3 separate regions of the Homo sapiens genome follow, and all the other regions are linked to region 3. The links are contacts of gene promoters, found by promoter capture Hi-C in blood cells and fetal thymus (Javierre and others, 2016). All regions are on one chromosome and are shown on one strand. The core of a region is centred on a gene start or on the middle of the fragment in contact, and the rest is flanking DNA. Distances in the headings are between cores, read along the strand shown.

Evidence for each region. The method cuts DNA at HindIII sites, captures the fragments that hold promoters and counts their contacts. A CHiCAGO score of 5 or more calls a contact.
Region 1: a fragment that was not itself captured here is called in contact with the fragment with the promoter of MBTD1 in region 3 in 2 of 17 cell types (neutrophils and naive CD8 T cells); the score reaches 6.9 in neutrophils.
Region 2: a fragment that was not itself captured here is called in contact with the fragment with the promoter of MBTD1 in region 3 in 1 of 17 cell types (neutrophils); the score reaches 5.9 in neutrophils.

Annotation. Positions count from the first base shown.
Region 1 is chr17:50,723,093-50,726,846 of GRCh38, reverse strand. The region is part of intron 1 of LUC7L3 (LUC7 like 3 pre-mRNA splicing factor); the gene reads right to left. Among named protein-coding and RNA genes, the nearest start is that of LUC7L3, 5.4 kb to the right of the region's middle. RefSeq lists an enhancer at 1,412-1,911. The HindIII fragment of the contact is 2,482 bases long and covers 938-3,419 here.
Region 2 is chr17:50,701,737-50,705,209 of GRCh38, reverse strand. All of the region lies in intron 1 of ANKRD40 (ankyrin repeat domain 40), which reads left to right. Among named protein-coding and RNA genes, the nearest start is that of ANKRD40, 4.4 kb to the left of the region's middle. The HindIII fragment of the contact is 889 bases long and covers 1,333-2,221 here.
Region 3 is chr17:51,258,383-51,262,115 of GRCh38, reverse strand. It overlaps MBTD1 (mbt domain containing 1), which reads left to right and starts at 2,067. Exons shown (of 17, transcript NM_017643.3): 1 at 2,067-2,281; 2 at 2,910-2,973. UTP18 (UTP18 small subunit processome component) reads right to left here and starts at 1,570. Exons shown (of 14, transcript NM_016001.3): 1 at 1,190-1,570. The coding sequence starts at 1,531. RefSeq lists an enhancer at 500-549 and silencers at 1,020-1,209, 1,560-1,669, 2,010-2,329. The HindIII fragment of the contact is 12,089 bases long and covers 1-3,733 here.

The sequences.
Region 1 (3,754 bases), core at 929-3,428, 540 kb after region 3:
AAGTGCTGGGATTAAAGACGTAAGCCACCGTGCCTGGCTATATACTGTATTCTTACAATAAAGTAAGCTAGAGATGTGCACTGTAGAATGTTTAGGGAAAAAAATAACTATAAGTAAGCTAGAGAAAAAAATGTGAAAACACATTTACAGTGCTGTATTTATCAATACCCTAAGTTTAGGTCATCTGTATACAAAAGATGAATTGTCTCAAATGCCAGCAACCCCAGGTGCAGATCTCAGTCTATCGTACATATCAAGCAATTTAACTTCTTGTACTGTCATGACTTTTCTGCTTCTTCGGAGCACTTCCAATGTCACTAGCTGCACTTCGTATGGGTCTCAGGGCGTTATTCAAAGGTCATGGTATTGTACATAGGCCAGGCGCTGTGGCTTACACCTCTAATCCCAGCACTTTGGGAGGCCAAGGTGGGCGGATCACTTAAGGCCAGGAGTTCGAGCCCAGCCTGGCCAACATGACAAAACCCCATCTCTACTAAAAATACAAAACTTAGCCAGACATGGTGGTACACGGCTGTAATCCCAGCTACCTGGGAGGCTGAGGTATGAGAACTGCTTGAACCTGGGAAGCAGAGGTTGCAGTGAGCCGAGATGGCACCACTGCACTCCAGCCTGGGCGACAGAGCAAGACTGTCTCAAAAACAACAACAACAAAAAGCAAAACAACAAGTTTATACGGTATTGCAATAAACAATGATGAAAATACACAAGAACCAAGGGATAATTTTTTACTGTGATATGCAATTTACTTTAGACACCAACTGCTCATGCAGAGATTATCAAGAGTCACAGGTCATAGGGCATTTTAAGTGGAGCCTGGCAACACTTGAGCTCACTGTAATAGCAACAGGTGGCTACAAAATTATTACAGTATTACAGTATGTACTATAGTTAATTTTATGCAGTTATTACTCAAGCTTTACTTTCTCTGGACTGCTAGTGGCACCATGTACTGTGTGCATAAGTTTTTATAAAGTTTAACTTTTTATGATTCGTATGTATTTTGTGGTAGGAAAATGATAAACTAGTATATACATCTATTTTATGTATTTGTGATGTACTTATCTTTTCTTAAATTTTAAAAATATTTCTAAGCTATGTGATTCGTCTTCAAGTTTTTTCAAATTGTTGCAAATCTCCAAAAAATGTTCCAATATATTTATTGAAAAAACTCCACGTATAAATGGACACACTCAACTCAAACCCGTGTTGTTCAAGGGTCAATTTTACTTTTCCCAATGGTAGGATTTATCATATTCTGTTATGGAAATGCGTTTACATTCAATTGGAATAATCCCCATTGGAAAAAAAAAGTGCATTTACTGTCACCAATACATGATGGCTCTTTAGGACCAAGTGCTGTATCTGTACTATCCTGCTGTTATCTACCTAAGAGCAATACTTTTAATTTTTTTTTTGAAATGGAGTCTTGCTCCTGTCACGCAGGCTGGAATGCAGTGGCGTGATCTCGGCTCACTGCAACCTCCACCTCCCGGGTTCAAGCGATTCTCCTTCCTCAGCCTCCCGAGTAGCTGGGATTACAGGCGTGCGCCACCACACCTGGCTAATTTTTGTATTTTTAGTAGAGACAGGGTTTCGCCATGTTGGCCAGGCTGGTCTCAAACTCCTGAGCTCAGGTGATCCACCCGCCTCAGCCTCGCAAAGTGCTAGGATTACAGGCGTGAGCCACCGCTCCCAGCCGAGCAATACATTTTTGTTGGATAAATGAATACAACAATTTTCCTAACTTACTATAAGAAATGAAGAGAAAGGCTGGGCATGGTGGCTCACCCCTGTAATCCCAGCACTTTGGGAGGCCGAGGGAGGATCACTTGTTGTCAAAAGTTCAAGACCAGCCCGGCAAACATGGTGAAACCCCATCTCTACAACAACACAAAAATTAGTCAGGCATGGTGGCATGCACCTGTAATTCCACCTACTCTGGAGGCTGAGGCAGGAGAATCGCTTGAACCCGGGAGGTGGAGGTTGCAGTGAGCTGAGATCACACCACTGCACTCCAACCTGGGCAACAGAGCAAGACTCCATCTCGGGGGTAAAAAAAAAAAAAAAAAGAGAAAATATTTCATAAAACGAAGAACTGTATTAGCAAAAAAGTCAAATTTACAAACTTAAGCTACCTTCTCCTTTTGTGAGGAAATCAAGGCTAATAACATATATAATGACACACACACACACACACACACACACACACACACAATTTTCCTAAAGCAACCAAAGATTTACGAAATACCTTACTATAATTTTCAGTGATTATGGTATTGTGGTTATTTTATTCTATTTTTTTTTTGAGACAGAGTGTCACTCTGTTGCCCAGGCTGGACTGTGGTGGCACCATCTCGGCTCACTGCAACCTCTGCCTCCTGGGTTGAAAGGATCCTCCTGCCTCAACCTCCAGAGTAGCTGGGATTACAGGAATGCACCACTACGCCCAGCTAATTTTTTTATTTTTTATTAGAGACAGGGTTTCACCATGTTGGCCAGGCTGGTCTCGAACTCCTGGCCTCAAGTGATCTGCCTGCCTTGGCCTCCCAATGTTGAGATTACAGGTGACCCACCATGCCCGGTCGGCTATGTTTTTTTTTTAAAGTCCTTGTATTTTACAGATATACAATGACCGCTTTAAGGTTGACAATAACAGAATTGCTTCAAAATAATGGAAGGGATACAGAGGAAATAATATTGACTATGTGCTAATATTGCTAAATTGGGCATGGGTACATGGGGAGTTCAATTTATTATACTATTCACTCTAATTCTGTATGTTTTGGGAAGAAAAGCAAATAGCAATTACATACACATATAACACATGGACTGCTGGCAATTCTGAGAAGCCAACACTTACTATTTTACTATGGAGTAAGGTAGGAAATGCCAGCCGGGCGCAGTGGCTCACGCCTGTAACCTCAGCACTTTGGGAGACTGAGGCGGACCGATCACTTGAGGTCAGGAGTTCAAGACCAGCCTGGCCAATATGGCAAAACCCTGTCGACTAAAAATACAAAAATTAGCCGGGCGTGGTGGCCCACACCTGCAATCCCAATTACTCGGGACGCTGAGGCCAGGAGGTGGAGGTTGCAGTGAGCCAAGATCATGCCACTACACTCCAGCCTGGGTGACAGAGCTAGACTCTGTCTCAAAAAAAAAAAGGGGGGGGGGCAGGGAGCAGGGTAGAAAATGCTTTTCTATCTTACTCCATAGTAACATAGTAAGTTACTATGAACATTTTGGTGACTCTGAATGAAAACTAGTAAAATACATATTAATAGATGCCATCATGCATTATAATTACTAGTTTTTTGCTTTCAATTTTTGCTCCCAAATTCTGAACATTTTTAAAGCAAAAAGAAAAAGTATACAAGTAAAAAATGTGGACAGAAGCTTTAGCTATTTTTCCTTTTCTAAACAACTTTTCAGTGTCAATGACAGTATCTGCTAACATTCCAAAGATTTTAGAAAAGAACATAGTTCAATTTCCTTCATAAATTATTAAACCTTCATGTTAAACCTTCATGGAAGGAAGGGTAGGCTTGAGTTTGATAAATGGAAGAAAACTCATTTCAGATATTAGAATCAGTGTTAATGATTAAGTAATTTCATTTTCAGGTTGAGATCTAGAATATAAAAACCTCAATTTGAACTACAAAATTTCTGTCTTGCTACATAAAAAATAACAAAACTCCCGATCAGACTTTACAATTTACTACAATCTTCTAAT
Region 2 (3,473 bases), core at 528-3,027, 560 kb after region 3:
TTAATGAGATGAAGCATAAATAGCTAACATTTATTGAACTTGCTTTGCAGCACAGATAGGATAGGGTTCTTTTTTTTTTTTTTTTTTTTGAGACAGAGTCTCGCACTCTCGCCCAGGCTGGAGTGCAGTGGTGCCAGGTGCCATCTTGGCTCACTTCAAGCTCTGCCTCCTGGGTTCACGCCATTCTCCTGCCTCAGCCTCCCGAGTAGCTGGGACTACAGGTGCCCGCCACCACGCCCGGCTAATTTTTTGTATTTTTAGTAGAGATGGGGTTTCACCGTGTTAGCCAGGATGGTCTCGATCTCCTGACCTTGTGATCCGCCTGACTCTGCCTCCCAAAGTTCTGGGATTACAGGCGTGAGCCACCGTGCCCGGCCAGCTCAGATAGGGTTCTAAGTGTTTTACATGTGTTAGCTTGTTCACAACTACCTGGGGACATAGTTACTGTTCTCTCCATTTACAGATGAAGAAACTGAGGCCCAGAAACCGTAAGTTGTTTCCTCACTTTTCACAGTGCCCCTTCCCAAGGTCATAGGATTGACAGTAACTAGTGGAGCCAGAAAACAAACCTGGTATCTGATGCCAGACCTACCCTCCTAAACACAATGTCTGCCCCATAGGAGGTGTTTAGTGAAGTGATTCTGAGGTAGCCTGAAGAGGCTTCTTATAGGTTTTTTTTTTTTTTTTTTTTTTTGAGATGGAGTTTCACTCTTGTCACCCAGGCTGGAGTGCAATGCGTGATCTCAGCTCACTGCATCCTCCACCTCCTGGGTTCAAGCGATTCTCCTGCCTCATCCTCCCAAGTAACTAGGATTACAGGTGTGTGCCACCACGCCTGGCTAGTTTTTTGTATTTTTAGTAGAAATGGGGTTTCACCATGTTAGCCAAGCTGGTCTCGAACTCCTGACCTCAGGTGATCTGCCCGCCTCGGCCTCCCAAAGTGCTGGGATTATAGGCGTGAGCCACCGCGCCCGGCCTCTTGTAGATTTAATTGGAGGAACTGTCTAATAGGCCCCTCAAACTCAACATGTCCAAGATTGAATTCCAAGTCTCCCCTCATCCCTCTACCACCTCAAGCCTGCTCCTCTGAGTCCTCAGCCTCTCAGGAGTGCTCAGGCCAGAACCCTTGGCACCCTGCTTGCCTCCTGCTTGCCTCCTGTCTTTCATAGCCGACATCCAGTCAGCCAATTCTATGAGCTCCACCTTCAGATACAGTCAGAATCTGACTACTTCTCACTAACCCTACCACTACACCTCTGATACAAAGCCACCATTGTTTCTCTTGCTTGGATTATTACAATAGCCTCCTACTAGTGTCCTTGCTCCTAAGCTTATATCATACAGTCTTCTTAATTAACACAGTGGTCAGAGGGATCCTGACTTAAAACATAAGTCAGATCATTTCACTCTGCTCAAAAATGGCTCCTATCTCACTCAGTAAAAGCCTACAGGGTCCTACAATTTCTACTTCCTGTCCCCACATCTTCCCTCCTTACCTCTGTGCTAATCTCATGGGATTTGCCCTTCTGCTTACCTTTTTCCCCTGGCCTCCTTGCTTTCTCTGGAATACCAGACAGTCCTGATTCAAGATCTTTGCGTTTTGTCTTCCCACTCTCTTAAATGCTTTCCCTCCAGATATCACATGGTTTGCTTCCTCACCACCTTCAGATTTTAGTTTAGATGTCACCTTCTTGGCAAGGCTTTTCCTGGGCCCTCAATTTAAAGTTGCACAATGCCCCTTTCCAACCTCTGTCATTCCCTAATGCCTTTCCCTGCTTTACTATTGCTGTCATACTTCATCACCACCTAGCGTACTGCGTGCTTTGCTTATTTATTTGCTGATGTCTGTTTCCTCTTCTGTAAAATGGGGGGAATGTTGACAGTAGTATTACCTCATGGGTTTAGAGGATTAAATAAGTTAATACATGTAATGCCTTTAGAACAATGTCCAACACGTAAAGCATTATACCTGTATTAGCCATTGTTGTTGTTTTCTTATTATGAAGCAATATGCTAGATAATGGAATATAAGGTTACCCTCAAAAAAACGTACTCTCTTGCATTTGCAAAGCAGAATGGTGACTGCTTTCAAGTCTTAGTTGCTCAGTAATCACAATTTCAGCACCAATGAGTGATGCCCTGTTGATGAATGACACCCAGTGCCTCAGGTCTGAAATAGTTTCTGACACTAATAAGATATTTTGACTGCAAATGTAAAGCTTAAGGAGTTGAAGTTCAAAGATAGAGTAATCTATCAATTAGATTGATCACTAATCATTCCCCCACATCAGTTGTAATTCAAGTGTCATGCATAACCCTTGGTTCATGAAGAACTTGAAAATATTACCTGGCTGCAGGGGCTCTGAGTTATGGCTGCCCAGAGCCGCACAGCTCTGGACGGTAAATGATGATCACTAAGGCACAGGGCTGTGGGGGCCACGCTATGTTGACTTAACCCTGCTTTACATGGGTGGTAGTTTAGCAAGTTGGTTTGTCCCAGAGTCTCTCAGACCCACTGGTAGTAAATTACCTCCTTTACTCTCAAGCTTGCCACGAACAAGTGATCTACTACTAGCAAGTGAGCATTTTATTTCCAAAAGGGAGCATATTTTTCTCATCATGCTTCATTCATTTTTGAGGGCTCACTTATCATTATAATTGTTCACTTTTTAAGCCTGTGCCACAGACATCCACACACAAACACACTCAAGGTTCCAGTTTGCCCAGAATCAAGGGTAGATTGGATCCTTCTACTTCAAGCAAGGTCCACTTTATCCTTAGTTTACTCATTTGGTACTTTTTTTTTTTTTGAGATGGAGTCTTGCTGTGTTGCCCAGGCTGAAGTGCAGTGGCACAATCTTGGCTCGCTGCAACCTCCACCTCCTGGGTTCAAGCAATTCTCCTGCCTCAGCCTCCCCAGTAGCTGGGATTACAGACATGCACCATCACACTAATTTTTGTATTTTTAGTAGAGATGGGGTTTCACCCTATTGGGCAGGCTGGTCTCAAACTCCCGACCTAAAGTGATCCACCTGCCTTGGCCTCCCTAAGTGCTGGGATTACAGGTGTGAGCCACCGTGCCTGGCCCATTCAGTAAATATTAATTAATACATGCCAAGCAAACACTTCCTTGCCTTCAGGGAGCTTGATCAAGACTCTTCTCTCCCAAACTTAACGAGACTCTTATTTTTCCCAAATTAGCAATAATTTTGTCATTGCATCATGGAATACACCTTAAAGGAACCTGGATAATCTAATTCTAATGAACCATAATGTAGAATGTCACTCTGAGACATCAATGGAATTGCTCCCAGCCAGCCAGACATGCTAACTTTCTGTAAGTTACTAATGTTAAGCCCAGGGCAAATCAGCTTTTTCCTGGAATCATATAAACTTTCCAAATAATTATACTTCCCAGGTTAGTGAACTAACCTTCAATATTGAACATTTGTTCTAATCTTCATTTCTGTATT
Region 3 (3,733 bases), core at 818-3,317:
GGCGAGTCTAAAAAAAAAAAAAAATCTAAACCTAGACCACAGAATATCCCTTGAAGTGAGTTTGAGCTTCCCAAAACCAATGATAGAAATGTCCAAGTGGTTTCTACTTGCTCTACTACTAGTCTAATAGCCTTCAAACCCAACAGCTCCCACCTCCGTACACTGTTCCTTTTCCAGACGACAAAACCGTCGCACAGTTCAGCATGTTTCCAGTAATAGTTCTGTACTTCCCAAAAAGATTGCTGCCACTTCTCCTACAAGCACCCGAAGGCGGCTCTGGTAAGCAGCTGACATTAACTAGGTCAGCATTTGTGTAATAAACATGGCCTGGGTAATTCTCGGTGAGCTTTCCTCTGCCCCCTTTATCTAAAATTTCACAGGCCTCTACACACGCCCATCTCCCTTTCCCGAATGTCCTTTTTTCTCTTCAGCACTTGTCACCAACAAACCTGAAGTTTACTCGTTTATCTCCTCTATCTTGTCTCTGCCACTAGCACACAAGCGCCAAAAGGCAGGGATTTTTGTCAGTTTTGTCCATTGCTGTGTCTCCTCCAGTGCCTAGAACAATGTCCGGGACTCTCTCAAGAAAAGCCTGGTATAGAATTTAAAGGGATAGCAAAATGTGTGCAAAAAGTATGATCAATCACGCAGGGTTTGCCATTGCCAGAAAGGGTATCTGGCAACTAACAGGTTCACCAATATTTGCTAAATGAACGGAATACACGATCATTCTCAAAACATGGTGGGTCTCATAGTCACATGGGGACATAGTTACAACGGAGATGCCCAGGCCCGTGCCCACGAATTGATTCCATCAACGAAATCGAATTCCTGAATCACAAGGAACTGAGGCAGGTGATCAAAAGACCACCCTCAGTTTGGGAAGAGGCTAGCGGAGTCGAGCAGCAGCGAAAGATGCTCACGACCACAGTTCGCAAAGCAGATACCCGAGCAGCGGCGCCTCCAGGGGCGGAGAAAGACGCGGTCCCCGCCCTCCAGGCACTTTCAGTCTGGAGCAGGGAGGCGAGGGACCCGCAGCTGCGACCCTCCGCGCCCGCGTTCTCGGGCTCCCTCCCACCTGAGCGCTCCCCGCCGCCGCAGGTCGCCCAGGCTCCGCCCCCCGGAGCTTCACCGCCCACCGCGCGCCCCGCCCGAGTGCGCCCAGCCCGCGCGCCGCGGCCTCCCTCACCCTCGGGCCTCGCAGACGCCGCAGCAACGCGTCCTCGTCGTTCTCGACGTCGCCGAAGACCAGCTCCTCCAAGCACCGCTCCACGGCCGGTTTGTCCTCCTCCAGCCTCAGGCGGTTCCGCTGCCGGAGCCGTCTCTCTTCCTCCGCCGCCGCGACTGCAATCGCAGCGGCCGCCGCGCTCGGCCGGGCCGGCGGTTTCCGCTGGGATGAAGGGGCAGGCTTTTGGGGAGGCCCGCCTGGCCCCGCTCCGGCTTTCCAGTCCGGCCTCATTCCGGGCTTCCGCTTCGGCTTCGCTCCGGTTCTCCGGTCCAGTTTCATTCGTCTCCTCCGCTCCGGCGGCATCGTTAGGTTTGAGGAGAAACGCAGGCGCTCACGTGGAACCTCGCTGCGCATGCGCCCAGGCCCCTCGCGGGCCGCCGCCGCCGAAGCCCCGGGGGCCGGAAGGAGCCTGCGCAGCCTCTTGCCACGTGACCAGCACTCCCTCCCTCTACGTAACTCCCGCTCCCCTACCCAGCCCCGCCCCGTGTGGGAGTTCCTCCGGGAGGGCCAATCTTCCGGGTGTAGGGGGAAGCGGCGTGACTGGAGTGGAAAATTTTTCCAACACAATTTCGCAGCTGCAACATATTGAAAGGAGCGCAAGAAACCCCGACTATACACTGGGACGGCTGAATGGAACTTCTGCTTTTCCTCTTGGCTGTAACCACTTGACTTGACACAAGCCCCAATACGCTTTCCACCCTTCGTCTTGGTACGGTCCTTGGAGTACGGAGCCTGCAGAGGGTCCCACGGTGGAAGCGAGAGAGGAGGGTATGTAGGGAAGTGGGCCAATCGGGGCGCGGGTCACGGCGCAGGCGCGCTGGGGAGGGAGGGCTATGCTAATGTTGTTGATATCCTGGGGCCACCCGAGTTAAAGGGGGGAAATCCGGGGGCTGCTGCACCCGCCACCGGTCTGGGCCCAGCCGGGGGCCCCCTGTAGTCGCCGCAGTCCCGGGGAGAGGCACCTGCCCCCAGCCCGGGGAGGGGGCGCCGCGGGCTCGGGGAGCACGGACAACCCCTACCCATGAGGCCCTGATGGAAAACACAAAGGATCTGGTGAGAGCCGAGCGCGGCAGCCGCTTTGTGTGCCAGGTGGGGGGGACGCCTGCAGCTCTCCGACCCCAGGAACCCCGCAGCTCCCTGACCCCGCTCCCTGGCCTGCTTCTCCATCCCACGCCCTCTCAACCTCCGGAGCCCCCCTCCCCCTTCCAGCCGTTAAACGATTCAGGGGTTCCCCTCCCCCCACCCCGTCAGCCTTGGACTCGTTGGGGTTCTCTCCATCTCCTCCACCCTTTGGAAGAAAAATTCGAGAAGAAAGTTTTTCTCTGCGTCCTGCCCCCGCCCCCTGCTCTGGCTAGGGGGGAAAGGCTGGATCCGAGACTTTTCCTTTTTTAGCCACCCAGGGTGGGAGAGTGGAGTAGTCCTCTCTTCTTGGCGGGGAGGGGGAGCACAGTTTCGTTGCTTTGCAGGGGAAGGTGTCTATCTGCCTTGGGGGCAGTGCCGCGAGGCGGTTTGCACGTGGAGGTGGAAATATTGAAAGGGGGCGGGGTGGGCACGTGCGGGAGAGGTGGGAGTGGTGTTTGGGAAGCAGCCTCCAAGGCTGCATATTTAAAAGGGTTTCAAGTCGGTGGACTTCTGTGACCATTGCGTTCTCCTTTGTGAAATAAGAATCCTAACATTTCAGAGTCGGAAGAGACATTAGAGGTCATCCAAAGCAGCCGTCCCCTCTGCAGCCTCTCTGACAAGTGGTAGGTAGTCTGAACCCTGCTTACACCCCTAAAAGCACTGAGAGCTCACTACTGCCCAGGAAAGCCCATATTTCAGTAGTTCTAATTGTTGTCTGCCTACCCTTATTAGACCCTTCAGTCTCATTCATGTCCTGGTTAAGTTGCTCCTTTTTTTACTTCTCAAATTTTCTCTCACATCCTCCTCACCCACCCACTGCTCATTGGCCTATATTTTGTGTGCCAAGAAAGAACAGCAGGGAAGTGGAGGAAGGGGGGTTGAGAGATAGTGAGGGCTAGCCGAAAACTTTGCTGGGTCAGTGTCAAGTGTGCTGGCTTACATGCCTGAAGATGTTTTTCTACAGGAAGCTAAAGAATTACAATATGGGAATTTCGTGCCTGTTTTCTCTTAGGAGTGCATCTTTTTGAAGTTAGAAATTTCAGCGTCATCTCCGTGGTTCTTGTATCACAAAACACATTTGTTTATTACCTAAATCACTTCTAAGGATGTCTAAAACTGAAGTGGTTAGAAGCATCACCTGGTAGAGGGATGATTAGATGATTACCGCCCACACCCGTATTTGACCTGTGTTCCTCGGAAGCTAGTCTTTCCTCCAAGGGCCTCTCTTCCAAATGCTTTTACTCCTTCTTTTTTTTTTTTAAGTAACTATCTTTTATGAGATTTGAAATTTACGAACCATTTTAATACTTGTTTAGAGTTTACAATATTTTTAATTCTCCTTATATTAGCATGCACCAGTACTTATCACTGGGTGGTTGAGAT